Regions from separate parts of the Homo sapiens genome. Here regions 2, 3 and 4 are each linked to region 1. The links are contacts of gene promoters, found by promoter capture Hi-C in blood cells and fetal thymus (Javierre and others, 2016). All regions are on one chromosome and are shown on one strand. The core of a region is centred on a gene start or on the middle of the fragment in contact, and the rest is flanking DNA. Distances in the headings are between cores, read along the strand shown. Region 1 holds the start of LMNB1 (lamin B1). Region 2 overlaps MAT2B (methionine adenosyltransferase 2 non-catalytic beta subunit). Region 3 holds the start of NUDCD2 (NudC domain containing 2). Region 4 holds the start of CHD1 (chromodomain helicase DNA binding protein 1).

Evidence for each region. The method cuts DNA at HindIII sites, captures the fragments that hold promoters and counts their contacts. A CHiCAGO score of 5 or more calls a contact.
Region 2: a fragment that was not itself captured here is called in contact with the fragment with the promoter of LMNB1 in region 1 in 1 of 17 cell types (naive CD4 T cells); the score reaches 6.0 in naive CD4 T cells.
Region 3: a contact is called between the fragment with the promoter of NUDCD2 here and the fragment with the promoter of LMNB1 in region 1, in 1 of 17 cell types (total CD8 T cells). The highest score is 9.4, in total CD8 T cells.
Region 4: a contact is called between the fragment with the promoter of CHD1 here and the fragment with the promoter of LMNB1 in region 1, in 1 of 17 cell types (total CD8 T cells). The highest score is 7.1, in total CD8 T cells.

What each region holds. Positions count from the first base shown.
Region 1 is chr5:126,775,040-126,778,773 of GRCh38, reverse strand. LMNB1 (lamin B1) reads right to left here and starts at 1,638. Exons shown (of 11, transcript NM_005573.4): 1 at 907-1,638. The coding sequence starts at 1,265. LMNB1-DT (LMNB1 divergent transcript) reads left to right here and starts at 2,288. Exons shown (of 4, transcript NR_134485.1): 1 at 2,288-2,479. RefSeq lists enhancers at 1-61, 1,077-1,877 and silencers at 552-661, 872-921, 1,232-1,311, 1,512-2,161, 2,812-2,861. The HindIII fragment of the contact is 4,360 bases long and covers 1-3,734 here.
Region 2 is chr5:163,506,090-163,509,823 of GRCh38, reverse strand. All of the region lies in intron 1 of MAT2B (methionine adenosyltransferase 2 non-catalytic beta subunit), which reads right to left. Among named protein-coding and RNA genes, the nearest start is that of MAT2B, 2.3 kb to the right of the region's middle. RefSeq lists an enhancer at 3,666-3,734. The HindIII fragment of the contact is 2,473 bases long and covers 439-2,911 here.
Region 3 is chr5:163,458,064-163,461,797 of GRCh38, reverse strand. It overlaps NUDCD2 (NudC domain containing 2), which reads left to right and starts at 1,696. Exons shown (of 4, transcript NM_145266.6): 1 at 1,696-1,936. The coding sequence starts at 1,748. HMMR (hyaluronan mediated motility receptor) reads right to left here and starts at 1,166. Exons shown (of 18, transcript NM_001142556.2): 1 at 1,060-1,166. The coding sequence starts at 1,105. RefSeq lists enhancers at 920-979, 1,730-1,979 and a silencer at 1,310-1,399. The HindIII fragment of the contact is 3,644 bases long and covers 1-2,425 here.
Region 4 is chr5:98,926,881-98,930,614 of GRCh38, reverse strand. CHD1 (chromodomain helicase DNA binding protein 1) reads left to right here and starts at 1,608. Exons shown (of 36, transcript NM_001270.4): 1 at 1,608-2,076. CHD1-DT (CHD1 divergent transcript) reads right to left here and starts at 2,053. Exons shown (of 4, transcript NR_151718.1): 1 at 1,973-2,053. LOC100289230 (a long non-coding RNA gene) reads right to left here and starts at 1,481. Exons shown (of 1, transcript NR_036530.1): 1 at 1-1,481. RefSeq lists enhancers at 875-1,204, 693-1,591 and silencers at 1,365-1,574, 1,835-2,464. The HindIII fragment of the contact is 7,543 bases long and covers 1-3,734 here.

The DNA.
Region 1 (3,734 bases), core at 389-2,888:
GTACTAAGCACAGTCTCTACCCGAAAGCCTGACTATACTACGAGGAGGCAAAAGCTGGGGACAGAGGGCCGCTGCCTGAGGGGTAGGAGAACCGCAATTCTAAGAACGGTAGCCGTGACATGCACAAACCCAGCTTTCCTTCCCTGCGCAGAACCACCCGAGGGACCGCACCATCCCCGCTGGGACAGGACACATTTCCCCAGAGAAAGCTAACCAGCTAGCAAACCTAACTTGCCCGGGGCTGGCTGGAGGCGCACGGATCAAGCTCCGCCTCTCTCTCCCGCCTAAAGCAGGCGTAGAATCTTCGCAAAACGTCACAGGGCCAAGACTGAGCGCGCCAAAGCGGGACCCACCCCCAGGAGACGCGGATGCTGCGGGAAGGTCCCTCCCCTTCCTCTCTCTGCCCGCGCGAAGCTCATTCATTCTAGAGGCGGGCTGCCAGTCCTCCCCGGCCGCCCATCCCGGCACTGCAAATCCGCTAGACGCTTTGTCTCGCGCCGGCCGGAAACTGGGGCGCGCACGCGAGCGCGCGCTCGCGCTCCAGCTCCCCGCACCTGGGGCCTGAGGGGCCGCCTCTCCGCGCCGGCTCCCCGGATTCGAGTGCGAAAGCGGGAGCTCCTTCTCGGCAGTCCCAGGCGCGCACTTACCACGTCCCAGCGGGTATCCAAAATCTAGAAATGGGCATCACGGCCCCCCAGCGCTACAGCTCGAGCCCCCTCCGCGACCCCTGCTCCGCTATGAACTCTAGATTCTTTCTCCTTTCCGGAGACCGAGACCCTGTTCCTTCAGAAGGACGCGTGCATCCTGGCCTCTGCTCCCTCCCCACGGCAGAACCCGGTGAGCTGGTCGCCGCGGTTGCGCCCCCGCCCCTCCTTGGCGCTAACGCGGCCGCCAGCTAGCACTCACTTGAGGAGCAGCTGGTCGTGTTCCGCCTTGCACTTGCCCAGCTCGATCTGCAGCTTGGCGCGCTCGCGGGCCGTGTCGTCGAGCGCGCGTCGCGCGTCGGCCAGCTCGGTCTCGTAGAGCGCCTTGAGGCCGGTGAGCTCACGGCCGCGCACCTCCTCGCGCTCCGTCACCTGCAGCTGCAGCGCGCTGTTCTCCGTCTCCAGGCTGCGCACCTTGTCGATGTACACCGCCAGCCGGTCATTGAGCTCGCGCAGCTCCTCCTTCTCCTGGAGCCGCGACAGGCGCGTGGGGCTCAGCGGCGTGGTGGGGCCGCCAGCGCGGCTGCCCATCCGCGGCGGCACGGGGGTCGCAGTCGCCATGGCGGGCGGCGGAGACAGCGGGGCGGCGAGGCCGCGAGCGGGACCGTGATAAGGAGGGGACGGCAGGGGGCGAAGCGGGGACCGAAGGCACAAACCGGCGACCTGCGCTCACGTCCAGACGCTGGCGTTTAGAGGAACGGAGAAGCACCTGGGATGGCGGGAGCTCGATTACAGCACAAAGGGCAAAGGCGCGCGGGGGGGAACTACGAATCAATCGATCGATCGCGAAATACCCTTTGTAAGAAAACACACACACCCACTCACACACGCACGCGGGAAAATGCAAGACGAGGGTGACTGGAGGCCCAGCAGGGTTCGCGCCGCCGCCGTCTCCTGCTCGCAGCACTTTGTTTCCTCTCAGGCTGCACGGAGCGGCGGGCGGGGGGAGGAGGGCCGGGAGGGGCGGGCTGGAGGCAAGCCGCGGGGGGCGGAGGTGGCGCGGGCCGCGGCGCCGCACTCCCCAACATGGCCGGCACGCCCCGGCGCCTCCACGTGACTACCATGGGCCAATGGGGAGCAGGCAGCGCGCTTCGGCGGTTCGGGGGCCGGGCCTGTAAATTTAAAATCTGGCCCTTGGGCAACCGTCAGCTCGGCCCTCCCGGCTGGGCGGTTCCCGGACCAGGCTCAGGGCTGTAAGGAAGGACGCCTGGGACTGCCCACCCGCGCGGCTCTGGGCCCAGGGCCCTCCCGCCGCCCCGCGGGGACCCCTTGGAGGGGCCGGGCCTGAGAAAGGCGGGAAGGAGCCCGGAGGTTTCCGGGACGGATCTGCGCCACCGCCCACACTCGGCGGTTCAGGGAAATTCAAATATAAACGTCCCTAAAAGCCACACGCGAAACTCAGAGTGTCCCCGGCCACCGCGGGCGTGGTAACCTTATCCCCCGCTCCGCTGGAGGGCTCGGGAAACGGCCTGGAGGCCGGGACGCTGTGGAATTACGTAATAGGCACTTGAGTCCGAGGTTCCAAATGCACGGCTTGCAGGTTCCAAGTACCAGCCTTTATTTTTCTCTCCGGTGGAAAACTGTATCAGGCAACTTCTTTCCATGAAAGTGAGATCTGTGCGTCTTGAAGCCGATAGATTATCACAGAAAAACCAGCAACCCTGATTTTAAATCATTTGCCAACAGTGTTAATGGGCGGTTCCTAATCCGTTTCTTAATTTAAGGGTTTGTAAAATCAAAAAACAGCTCAGAAATGATACGATTAACATATGACGGTGAGTAACTACGAGAGCAAGCTGTTTCATACTCCGTTAAAATCAGGTACATAAAAATCTGAACTTGTGAAAATTTAAGATGAAATAATTTTTTGCTTTTAAAAAGAGGCTCCCAAGATGTCACTGGCAGCTACTTCTATTAGAAAGCACATTCATCCCTTTGAAAAGTTCCTAATTTTTAGCTAACATTTATTGGGACTGAGTGCCAGCACCAGGCTTTTCATGGATTACCCATCCACACAATCTCCGTGTGATGTGGGAAACTGGATTGTTTCTATTTGAAAATTCATCCGGGCGGGCGCGGTGGCTCACGCCTATAATCCCAACACTTTGGGAGGCCGAGTGGGGGAGGATCACCTGAGCTCAGGAGTTCAAGACCAGCCTGACCAACATGGTGAAACCCCGTCTCTACAAAAATACAAAAATTAGCCGGGCATGATGGCGGGTGCCTGTAATCTCAGCTACTTGGAAGGCTGAGGTGGGAGAATCCCTTGAACCCGGAAAGGGGAAGTTGCAGTGAGCCGAGATGGCACCATTACACTCCAGCCTGGGTGACAGGGAGACCCCGTCTCAAAAAAGAAAGAAAGAAACCATCCATTTTATAGATTCACTGTCTGAAGGCTGCTCCGCAGGACTGCGTTTGACAGGTCCCAGGATTCTAATTGACTCGAGTCTGGCCCTTAGCTATACCCTAGATGACCACCTTACCACCTATTAGGAACGCTTCTGTAATTAATGGTTACTTACTTTTAAAATGGCAGAAATGGAGACCAGGATATTCTTTAACTGTTAATCAAGTCATGTACATAAGAATTAGTGAAGAGCACTGGGAGCTGCATATTCATCCCAGATGAATTTTTGGCACTCTGTGAATGATGACATTCTCCTTATTAATGGTTCTATTTCCTGTCCGGTTTCCTAAAATACTTCCTTGCTTTTTGGGGGGTGGGGGGGTGGGGGGGAGGATGGCAGGGAGACGGAGTCTTGCTCTGTCGCCCAGGCTGGAGTGCAATGGCACAATCTCAGCTCACTGCAACTTCCACCTCCCGGGTTCAAGCGATTCTCCTGCCTCAGCCTCCTGAGTAGCTGGGACCAACGCCACCATACCCGGCTAATTTTTTGTATTTTAGTAGAGACTGGGCTTCACCGTGTTGCCCAGGCTGGCCTCGAACTCCTGATCTCAGGCAATCCGCCCGCCTCGGCCTCCCAAAGTGCTAGAATTACAGGCGTGAGCCACCGCGCCTGGCCATGAAAT
Region 2 (3,734 bases), core at 426-2,925, about 37 Mb before region 1:
ACAAGGATTTCAGCCAACAAAATATTTTCTTTGAAATTTGGCAAGAAAACAGCTCTACAAAGATTGAACTGTAAAGAGGAGAAAACATGCCAAGTCTAGTACAGATACAGTCAGAGAAAACAATTTACACAGGATAAATACGGTAAAGATTCCTGAAAAAATACTCTAAAAGAGAGATAATTTGGTTTCTTCTGAGTTCCTCACTTTTTACTTCACTCTACGGAAGCAAAGGAACAGGTAACAGTTCCTAAGGTCAGTGGTTCTCGTGCTTCAGTGTGGATCAGAATCACCTGGAGGGCTTTTAGATCACAAAGGTCTGGGGTGGGGCTTGATAATTTGCATTCCCAACAAGTTCCAACAAGTGATGCTGATCATCGTGATTTGGAGACCGCACTTAGAGGACCAGTGTACTCTCGAACTCCAGGAAAGTTCAAAGCTTTCATAACAATCCGTTTCTCTTACACAAGGAAAACAAAAAGTGCCATCTACCTTTCTCAAAATGACAACAGTATCTTTCCCCCTTAAAAAAGAAAACTTGAAATAGAAGCCAAAGCATTATACAATCCACAAAAGTTACTAAACAATGAATTAAGATCTGTGTACTTCACTGACTCTGTGAAGTACAGTTTCATTTTAACATCTGTTAAATGAATTTAAAAAAAATCTTATGAATCGTCACAGTTTTGCAGTAGTTTTTGCTAACTTAATGCAACTTAAGAGCCCAGATGATCTTCTTTTAATTAAGAGCTTCTTGGAGTTGATGCAGTATTAAGTATAGAGAAGAACAAGGCTCTTTAGGGAATATAATACCTTAACGTAAAAAAGGAAGTGGAGTTGTATGAGAAAATGCAACTTTATATCCTTATACCCCTGGGTTACTATGTAAGGCCTCCAGTACGCCCGGCCTATAACATGTTAATTTTCAAATAAAATGTTGTGCAGTATCATTTCCATTTCAGTAAATGCTTGCACTTCAGATCGTCACTCTTAATAAAAATCTTGAGCACTGACACCTGACTGCTGGGTACTGTACACTGTTTCATATTTTTTTCTAGGTAATTTTAGGTAATCTAAGCTACTCGGGAGGCTGAGGCAGGAGAATCGCTCGAACCCAGGAGGCGGAGGTCGTAGTGAGCCGAGATCGCACAACTGCACTCCAGCCTGGGGGACACGAGCTAGACTTCATCTCAAAAAAACAAACAAACAAAAAAACCAAAAAAAAGAAAACTAACGTGTTATATAAGTATACAATCATAGCTGTTTTTGTTTTTTTAATAGCAGTTTGAGGCCGGGTGCCAGGGCTCACGCCTGTAATCCCAGCACTTTGGGAGGCCAAGGTGGACCAACCACTTGAGGTCAGGGGTTCAAAACCAGCCTGGCCAACATGGTGAAACGCTGTCTCTACCAAAAATAGAAAAACTAGTCGGGCATGGTGGTGGGCGCCTATAATCTCAGCTACTTGGGAGGCTGAGGCAGGAGAATCGCTTGAACCCTGGAGGCAGAGGTTGCAGTGAGCAGAGATTGAGCCACTGCACTTCAGACGGGGTGAAAGAGCAAGAGGAAAAAAAAGAAAACAAAAAAACCCAGCAGCTTGTTAGAAGAGATATTATTTCCAAAGAGAGTAACAAGAAGTCCAGTGTTAAATGTTTTGTCTATAGTAAAAGAGAAAAAGCTGGAACCAGAACCTGAGTCTTGCTTCTCTGGTCAAGTCAAATACACTGCATTTTGTCTCAATCCTGTGAACTAATATTTGGTTTCATGAATGATTAAAGTTTTATCTGTTCTGCCACAAATTGGTGTTTAGAAGTTATTCTATCTCTATTGATCTAATTCCTCATTGGTAAATGGGGAAGGCATTTAGACAAAATGACTAAGGCTCTTTCAGCTTTAAAGTTCTATATTTCTAACATTTTCCATATTATCCCTACCACGAGGAGTCCGAATAGTTTCGTTTACTTAAATAAGGTAACTTTTCCTCTGAATATGCATTACTCCGAAATTTAAAATATGCCAAACAAATATCTCTGTTTTTGAGCTTCTATATAAGCAATACTCTGCCTTTTACACTGTTTTGTTGAGGCTTTTTGGTTCGTTCTTTAGAAAAAGAAATATCCCTCTAAAAACTACTTTGGACCTGCACTCCATAAATTATTTTAGTTGTGCACAAGGAAGAAATGTCTAAACACTTTAAGAAAGTCAGAATGAAAGAATAAAATGCTATCTAGTTCACTCAAGGCACAATAAAGAGTTGATAATACTTTGCCTGAAGTCTACTTTTTCTCAATTTTTATTATATGGGGGAAAGTAGATCTAATATCAGTTTAAGTTACTCTAAACGTATCTGCCTCTTATTGTCTAAACTCTGAAGTACGGAATTCAATCACTCCAAGGGACCAGATTTATGGACACCAAAAAAACATTTCTTGAAAAATTAAGTACATATAAATAAATATTCTTATTATCGTATCTAATCGAATGATACCAAATTGTATAGGTAATGGGAGATACATGGCTCCTTCCAAATGGTCCAACACAGTACTCTGGGACAGTGATTTCTACTTTAGCACACCTGCATTAATGTCTACTAAAAATGTTCTAGAAAAGTAAAGAATGGAATACTATTAGTATGTGGTTTTCCCAAATTTCAGTGGTAAATACCTTGTCGTTTTTGGAAACTTTAAAACTTGGCACAGTTCCATGTTTAATTTTTTAATTCCCCAGAAACAGACCCTTAAGGTAAACATTACTGGGCTTTACTTTTTAAGATTCTCTGACTACTTAGGTGGGATTGGTCTAACTTCTACTGCGACGCTACTGTGCTCCACAGACAGTATTACTAACAACAACCACTCCAGGATGCTTCTCTAACGTTAACTATGAGACAGTTCTCGTTCTCATGAGTCAGTAAGCTTTAATTCTACAGGTTTTGAGAGCAGTAAGTCTGTGCCAAGCTCTTCGTTGTTTCATTTTTAATGAAGGAAAACACGAAAAGCTATTTTCATTTTTATACTGAACTTCTTTTTGTGAAAGTAGATTAAGCTTTATATGCACACGTACACATACAAATGCATACATATAAATGTAAACGTATGTAACATGCACTCAGCACGGTCTGGAGGACCTAGGAACATAGAGGTTTAATAGACCATTTATCCTAACTTTACCCTCAAAGAACCAAAGTGATTTGAAAACCCTAAGTAAATTTGGAAGCATGAAAACTTTGCAATAACAGAAACAGCCATCTCCTATATTCTCTACTCTCTCCAAAAGACATGGTCTGGGCATTAGTAGTGTTCTTATCCCCAGGGTTGGATATGTTCTGTGGACAGATTAATGCTGGAGGCCCTTAAGTGGAATGGAGCAGGATGGGACGGGGGCGAGGGGGGCACCAGAGATGGATCTTCCAATCATCACCATAATCTTCCTTCAGGGAAACTCCGTAGTGGTTCAAAGCCCAAGACAGTCACACAAACCTGTATCTGAATTCCAGGCTCCAACCTTACGGAATGAACCTGGGCCAATGTCTCACCCTCTATGCCCGTTTTCTCGTCTACAAAATGAGGCAATAACAAGTATCTCACAGTGGAGGATTAAAGTAATGCCCGTCAAGTGCATAACATAGTGCTGAGAACTTAAGAGTTCAATAAGTTGTCATCTCCAGCACTGTTATTTGTGAGAAGTCACCTTTTCCTGTTCTTTCTCAAACCTACGAACTTGTAAGATCGAGAAATACG
Region 3 (3,734 bases), core at 447-2,946, about 37 Mb before region 1:
TTTTTTTTTTTCTGTAAGACAGAGTCTTGCTCTGTCGCCCAGGCTGGAGTGCAGTGGCGCGATCTCGGCTCATCGCAAGCTCCGCCTCCCGGGTTCACGCCATTCTCCTGCCTCAGCCTGTAGTCAGCTGGGACTACAGGCGCCCGCCACCGCGCCTGGCTAATTTTTTTTGTATTTTTAGTACAGACGGGGTTTCACGGTGGTCTCGATCTCCTGACCTCGTGATCCACCTGCCTCGGCCTCCCAAAGTGCTGGGATTACAGGCGTGAGCCGCCGCGCCCGGCCGCATACAGCATCTTAAATGATGAGTGCCTACCAAACACAGCTAAGGCTTCCTGGTTACTGTGCTGTGCATTGCGGTGTTAAGAGCACACGATGGGGGCTGGGTTCATATTCCAGTCCGGTCACTTTGGTAATGTAGCACTGAGCAAATTTAAGTCTCAGTCTTTTTATCAATAAAATAATAATAGGATTACCCCTTAGAGTTGGTGGGAAATTAACATAACTAATAATCGATGTAAAGCCTTAGTACGGTGCTTGAGGTATAAGTGGTCAATATCAGCCATAACTTCATTGTTTATGTTTTCAATAAGTGCTGCTGCTCTAATTTTACACCCATAAACTGCCTTTACTAATCTTCCTTCTTTTATGCCCAAATGGAATACACAAAAGAAATGCACAAGTTCAGACTACAAGTAATACTCCAGTGTTCTTATCAGTGAGGCCCTCTCGGACTTGAAAATCAAGTAGCTACCAACGTCTCGGGTCCATTCCCTTCGCCCTGCTGTAGTTTCTCCATTACCGCTGTTTATTGACAGTATTCCCCGCCTGAATGTAAGCCCCACGGGGCGGAGACTGTTTCACTGCGGTATCCTTAGCATCCTGATTAGTGCTTGGCATGTAACAGATGCTTAGAGCATATTTGAGAAAAATCAATCAACTGAATGAGCCCCAGCCCGACCCTAAAATCGCCTCCTGCTTGCCTCCCAAGAAGGGAGCTGAAAGAGGCAAAGGGCGTTAGGGCGTCTCCCGTCCCCCAGCTCTTTCCCCCTTACGCACCAGAAGGGTCATTGAATCGTTTCAAGGGCGCCTTAGGAAAGGACATGTTGACGGCCAGCTCCAGAAACTGAAGGTGACTGGCACTCCTCGACAACTGAATGCGGATTATCACTCCCTACCGGTTTCAAATTCAAATCTCCCCACATTCCCCACCCACCCCGGCGTTAGCCAATTGGAAAGCCAAACCCCTGGGCACACCAATCCCGCACAGGAACACGAAGAAAGAATGCTGGGTTCTGATTGCGTCCAATTAGCTGGCCTGCGAGTTTAGGCTGCCATCCAATAGGAGACCGTTACTGTTCCCCGCCCCACCCACCCAGTCATTCCCGGAGTTACTCAAGTGTAACCTAGCATTTGCGCAAGCGCACTTCCCTCCGGAGACGTTAGAAAGTGCATTTTGGCGTCACTTAGGGGACGGTGTAGTGAGTTCCGGCTTCACTGGTTCCAATTCTGTCCCATTGTTCGTTGCATGTGAACTTTTCTGGATTTCAGTTCTTTCATCCGGGGCCTGCCGGTGCCGTAAACGGCCATTCAAAGGGAAAAACGAACACGCACACCAAAGCGCTAGCTTGCGTTCCTGCGCATGCGCAGTGACCCGAGCGGAGAGGCCGAGGCGTAGCCTAAGCGTGGGATTCCGCGCGTGCGCTCGGCTCCGCCTGGTGCGGCCGCGGCCGGGAGGGACTGGATTATGTCGGCCCCGTTTGAGGAGCGGAGTGGGGTGGTACCGTGCGGGACCCCGTGGGGCCAGTGGTACCAGACCTTGGAGGAGGTGTTCATTGAAGTTCAGGTGCCGCCAGGCACGCGCGCCCAGGATATCCAGTGCGGCCTCCAGAGCCGGCATGTGGCGCTGTCGGTGGGCGGCCGCGAGATCCTCAAGGTAGCGGCAGCTCGGGGCTTGTGTTCAGTTTCCTCTTCCCAGACGCCCCCAGCCCCGTTTCCCTGAACGACTGTTGGGTGTCCCGACGGCTCCTGTGGCTGGCAGAAAGAGAAAGAGGATAACACTGACCAGGTTTGGGTCTGGTCAGAGCCCCCGCCTCTTCAGGGCAGGTGCTGAGTTGTGGAAATTTGAGGAGCCTATTTTCGTGTTTAGTTTTCAAACTAAGACTGCTGCTTCTGCTTCTCTGACGGGCTTCAGCTGGGAACAGATTAACTAGGTTGCTAAAGGAACAAATATTTCTTCCGTGCACTGAAGACAGGCAGGAAGACAACAGATAACGTACCTGCAGTGGAGAGGTTAAGCTCCTGTACGGAAGCGTAATTCATAAATAGATAAATATAGGAAAGGACAACAAAGAAAATAGGGATAGAATAACGGGCAGAGAATTTAGAGATGATGTCAGGTGATTAGTTTTCTCATCTAAAAGCTTGAAAATCCTGCATGTTTGTGGAGTGGTCAAGCAGGTGGTGAAGAGGTGTGTGCATAAAATAAGTAGTACTCCTTTTATTTCTTTTCACCAATGCTCTTTGGATCTGGACCCGCTTTTTCTTTGTTAAGTGTATAATTAAACTAACAGGTTGAAATTAGATTTAGTTCTCAGGTTAGATGCCCAAGATGTTTGATGGCAGTGTAATATGGTGAAGGGAGACTACTTGTTTCCTAGTTTTGTAAACTTGGGCGAGAGATTGTTCAGTGTCTCTATATCTTCCTTATCCACAAGATAAGGTAGTTATAGTACCCTTCTCATGGGATTGTTTTGAGCTTAACATGGTATTCACGTGTATGAAGAGCTTGGAGTATTCACTGGTATGTAATAAGTTCATACTATATGTTAGCTATTAGCTATTATATATATTACAGTATATGGAGGTGCTTTGAGTGCCTCAAGATTCGTGTGAAAGACATTATGTCAGCTTGGATCTCAGTTACTTTTCTGAATTGTACAATTCATAGTTTCCTCAACAATGGTTTTAGATTACGATTATAAATTAGTAAATCCAGTAACTTTCGGAATTTAGCAGTAGCTGCTGAATTTGGGATTTCTGATGTACGTATAGACCAGTGGGATTTTTTTCTCACTAATTTTGACATATTTTAAAATGTGGGCTTTTCCTAGTGACATTTAATTTCACTTTCTATAACTTAAATTTGGCAACAAATTAAAATGGATTTGAGTTTAGGCATTCTCTCTTTAAAAAAAAATATATATTTATTGAGACAGGGTCCCTGTCTCCCATGCTGGGGTGCAGGGGTGAGATTGTAGCTCACAGCAGCCTCAAACCCATGGGGTCAAGCAATCCACGTTGGCCTCCAAAGTCCTGGGATTACAGGCCTGAGCTACTGGGCCTGGTGCAGTCTCTTTTAAATTTATATTTTGTTTATTTTTTTAAAAAACATGAGTTTGTGAACAGTTAGTCACAACTAATCTATCAAATCTGGAATACGTAAAGTTTTTTTAATGCCGATTGCCCAACAAAAAGATTAAAACGTTTTTAAAAGTTTACTTTAAAAACAACATTTTGCCGGGTGCGGTAGCTCATGCCTGTAATCCTGGCACTTTGGAAGGCCTAGGCGGGCGGATCACAAGGTCAGGAGTTCGAGACCAGCCTGGCTAACACGGGGAAACCCCATCTCTACTAAAAATACAAAAATTAGCCGGGCGTGGTGGCGGGCGCCTGTAGTCCTAGCTACTTGGGAGGTTGAGGCAGGAGAATCGCTTGAACCCTGGAGGTGGAGG
Region 4 (3,734 bases), core at 359-2,858, about 28 Mb after region 1:
GTATGATCTTTTCATTCCTCACAACCCAGTATTAAAACTATCTAATATTGCAAAGGATGGTAGTGTTCCACTTCGTTTTGCTATTCAATTATTGCTGATAGATACATGTTTTCAAAAAGGCCATTGGCATCTGTTTGCTTTCTCCTACTTCTCCAAGTGAATACACCCTTCAATATGTAGTAAATACATATGTGGAGTTATGTTTTGAGATTTTTTTGAAGGATTTGAACCAAACTGTTTAAACAGCTGGTAGCCTAAAACTGGAATATTTCCCACAAGGGAAAAATAATTATTTGGGGAATGTATGTTACCACAAACTCATCTGACTTGGAAAGTGCGCCTTTACACCAAATCAAATAACTGAACAATGGGATTAGAAACTTTTAATTATTATTAACCTCGGCCACCGGGCGCCGTGGCTCACGCCTGTAATTCCAGCACTTTGGAAGGCAGTGGCAGGTGGATCGCTCGAGCTCAGGAGTTCAACACCAACCTAGCAACATGACAAAACCCCGCCTCTACAAACATAAATAAAAAACAAAAATCATTAACCTTGAGTGAGTCAAGTTCATCTGCAGACTGAAAAAAATAAAGTGTAACAGAATTTTGATTTAAAAAACGCTTTCAAAAAAGCATTTCAAAATGCTCTAAGTATGTTTCAAAAATACACTTAAAAATATGTTTCCAACACACTGAAGGGATTTAACTAAGATCCACAATTACAGTTACGATACAAACTGTAAGCTAAAAGGCAGCAACTTAAGCTGAGACAGTTACTAACATCCCTCGAGCAGCGTTTTTTGTTGCGATTCGGCGCCGCACCCGTCACCCCGCCCTCCGGGGAGGAACCTAGAAAGGAAGGGTGGTACATTTCTAAACCAGGCCACCCACACATGAATCAAGCGGCATCACAGGCTGTCAACAACCGGGTCTCTATTTTCTCTCCTCCTCCGGCGCCCCGCCCGTGCGGGACATCAGCTCCCAGGATGCGTCAATCGCAGATCGCCCAAGCGTAAGAGGTGGCGAGAGGCCACCACGGTTGCCCAACAGTTGCGTTCCCAGGCTGCCTGGTGTGACGCAGCAGCCCCCGCCCGGACCCTGAGGCCTGGCGCTCCGACTGAGCCGAGGCCTGTGCTACCCGACACTCCTTGCGACCCGGCCCCTTAGGCTTATTCAGCGCGGCCCTTCCCGGCTTCCCGAGTCCCATCGCAGTCTCTCCCCACCCCCGTTCCTCCCCGGTTCCTTGTCAGTGTCCGCCGCGATGTCCTTGCGCAACCATCCCAAGTGACATTAGCGCCCATACCCGCACGGAGCGAGCCTGAAGCTCCCACTTCCCGGAATTCAACGCCGGGCCGCTAAGGGCGGGCACCCAAGCGAGGATCAGCGGACTAAGGCCGCGACCAGAGTCCAGCGGTCTCCGCGCAGTCAGAGTCCGACAGCCTCTGCGCATCCGCCGTGCGCACTCCCATTCGTGCGCGTGCGCGCACTCGCCCCCCCCGCCCCGCCCCAGCACCAATCGCTTTTTTCCTACGCCCACGACCCTTCAACGTAGTCCCTCCCGCCTCCCGCGCGCGAGCAGAAAGGCTTCGGCGTGCGCGCGCCCGCCCGCCTCGCGCTCTGTCGGGAAGGGGAGTGAGCAGAGGCGCTTACGTCGCGCGGGAGGCGGAGGCGACGGCGACCTCGGTGGCGGCGGCGGCTACGACGGAGACGGTTGCGCTCGCTTGCTTTCTCGGCGTCATGGCGGCTGCCGGGGGCAGATAAGCGGAGGGAGCGGGAGCGCGCGCGCGACGGCGGCGGCGGCGGCGGCGACGACTGGTTACTTATAGCTCTTGCTGCCCTCGCCCTTGGTGCTTCAATAATGAATTGTTAGCTCCACTCCGCAGGGGATCGCGCGTTGGTGCTGCGGACCGGGGCTTCCCCTTCCCCTCCGCGTCTGTCCCCTTCCCCCTCCCCCGCACGGACTCTTGCTTACCCCGAGACGCCGGAGCCCTAGGACTGGGCGGCGGAGATCCCGGGCCTGGGCGCGGGGGAGGCCGTCCACCCGAGTCGGCTCCCTCCGCCCCGCCAAGCCCGCCGGTAAGAAAGGGGGCGGCGGGCGGGTCAGGATGTGGCGGAGAGGACAGGAACCGGCCGGGCGGAGGGCGGGCGCGGCGCGGTGCCCAGGCGGCGGCCCAGCGGCCGGGTGAAGGCCGGGTGGCTCTGTGAGTGCCGGTGGCGGTGTACGGGCCTGGCGCGCAGGGGGCGTGTGAGCGGCGAGTACAGGCCGGGGCCGCAGAACGCATCCTTGCGCCGGCCCGGCGGCCCTGCCCCGGCCTCTTCGGCTTGGTGCCGACCGGGCCGCGAGAGGAGACCCGCGAATGGCTAGCACTTAGCCGGTGCGTGGGTCCTGCCGCGACCCGGGCTCCCAGCACGTGGGGAGCGGCGGGAGGGGGAGGGGGCGGCGGCTCGGGCGAGCCTGGGAGGGCGCGGGGCGGGTCTGCGGGAAGTTTGAGGCGGGAAGAGGGACTCCTGGACCGGGATGGAGGCCCTGGGAGAGGGGGGCAGGTCCGCGAGGGAGGCTGATTGGAGCGCGCTGGATGGATGAGTGAGGATGGTTTCCAAACCTCTTTCGAGTGCCGCTTTAAAAACTTAGCAGGAGCAAAGCAACTGCTAAAAGACAGAGGATTGAAGAGGTTTAATAACTTAGGGTAGTCATTGTGGAGACGCTTGAGAGGACACAGCGCTGTGTGCGCTTGGAGCTTCAGAACTCAGGGTTGTGAAAAGGGTCTCAGAGGACTTATTCGGATAAGGGAGATGGAGGGGAAAGGAAGTTAAAATGTACAGAGAAAGCCATTTTGAGGGACGAAAGGAAGGTGAAAAGGAAAGAACGAAAAGGGGAGTGAACTTTTTAAAGGAAGAAACGGGAAAGGCAGTTTGTTAACATACTTAGATTTTTTAAGACTTAATTGTTCAGTAAGGCACTTTGACTAGGGTTGAGATTAATATTTAACATTAGGAATAAATGTTGAGTAGAACGGTTACTTTTTAGATAACCTGTTCTTGCAGAGTCTACTGGACAGTAGTCTAGAGAATTAACATCCTGATCCAGATGCAGACTTTGCTATCATTGAGTTGGTAACAATCTGTTTCCCTCCCTCTCTTGTGGAATGGAAATAATCGTAGGAGTGAATTCTCTTTGCTGAGGTCGGAGGACAGCTCTGCTCTCAGTTGGCTGTCTCGGTACTTTCTGGCTGGGGAAGGATCTGACGTCTCCTTCCCCCGCTTCTTCCTCTCCCTCCCCTGCCAGAGATCTCCTTTGTTTATTCGTGGATGGCTTGTAGGTGATTCTTCAGTGTTGTACTGAAATCTTTAAAGGTGGAAATGGTGTGTCTTGGTTCATTATTCTTGCCCCAAATTTTTTACGTAAAAAATCAGATATAGTGTATATTCTATTACCTTTTCAATTTTTTTCACAAAATAAAAACCAAGTGCAAACTGGTTAAGTATTATTTAAATGTTATCATCCCACTATCCGTTTACCTGTTAAATAACACATTTATTTTGAGCTATGCATTTTTGTTGAGAGTATATGGTATCTTTTATTTGCCTGTTCCTCCCATGGGAGCGTTTTCAGAACTTTCTCACTCAAGTGTATGAAGTTCTTGGTGATAGGAGTGAGGGCTTGATTAAAGGTAACCTCCTCCCACCCCCCCCCCCACTTCATTTATTCGACCAAGTTATCTAATAAGACTCCG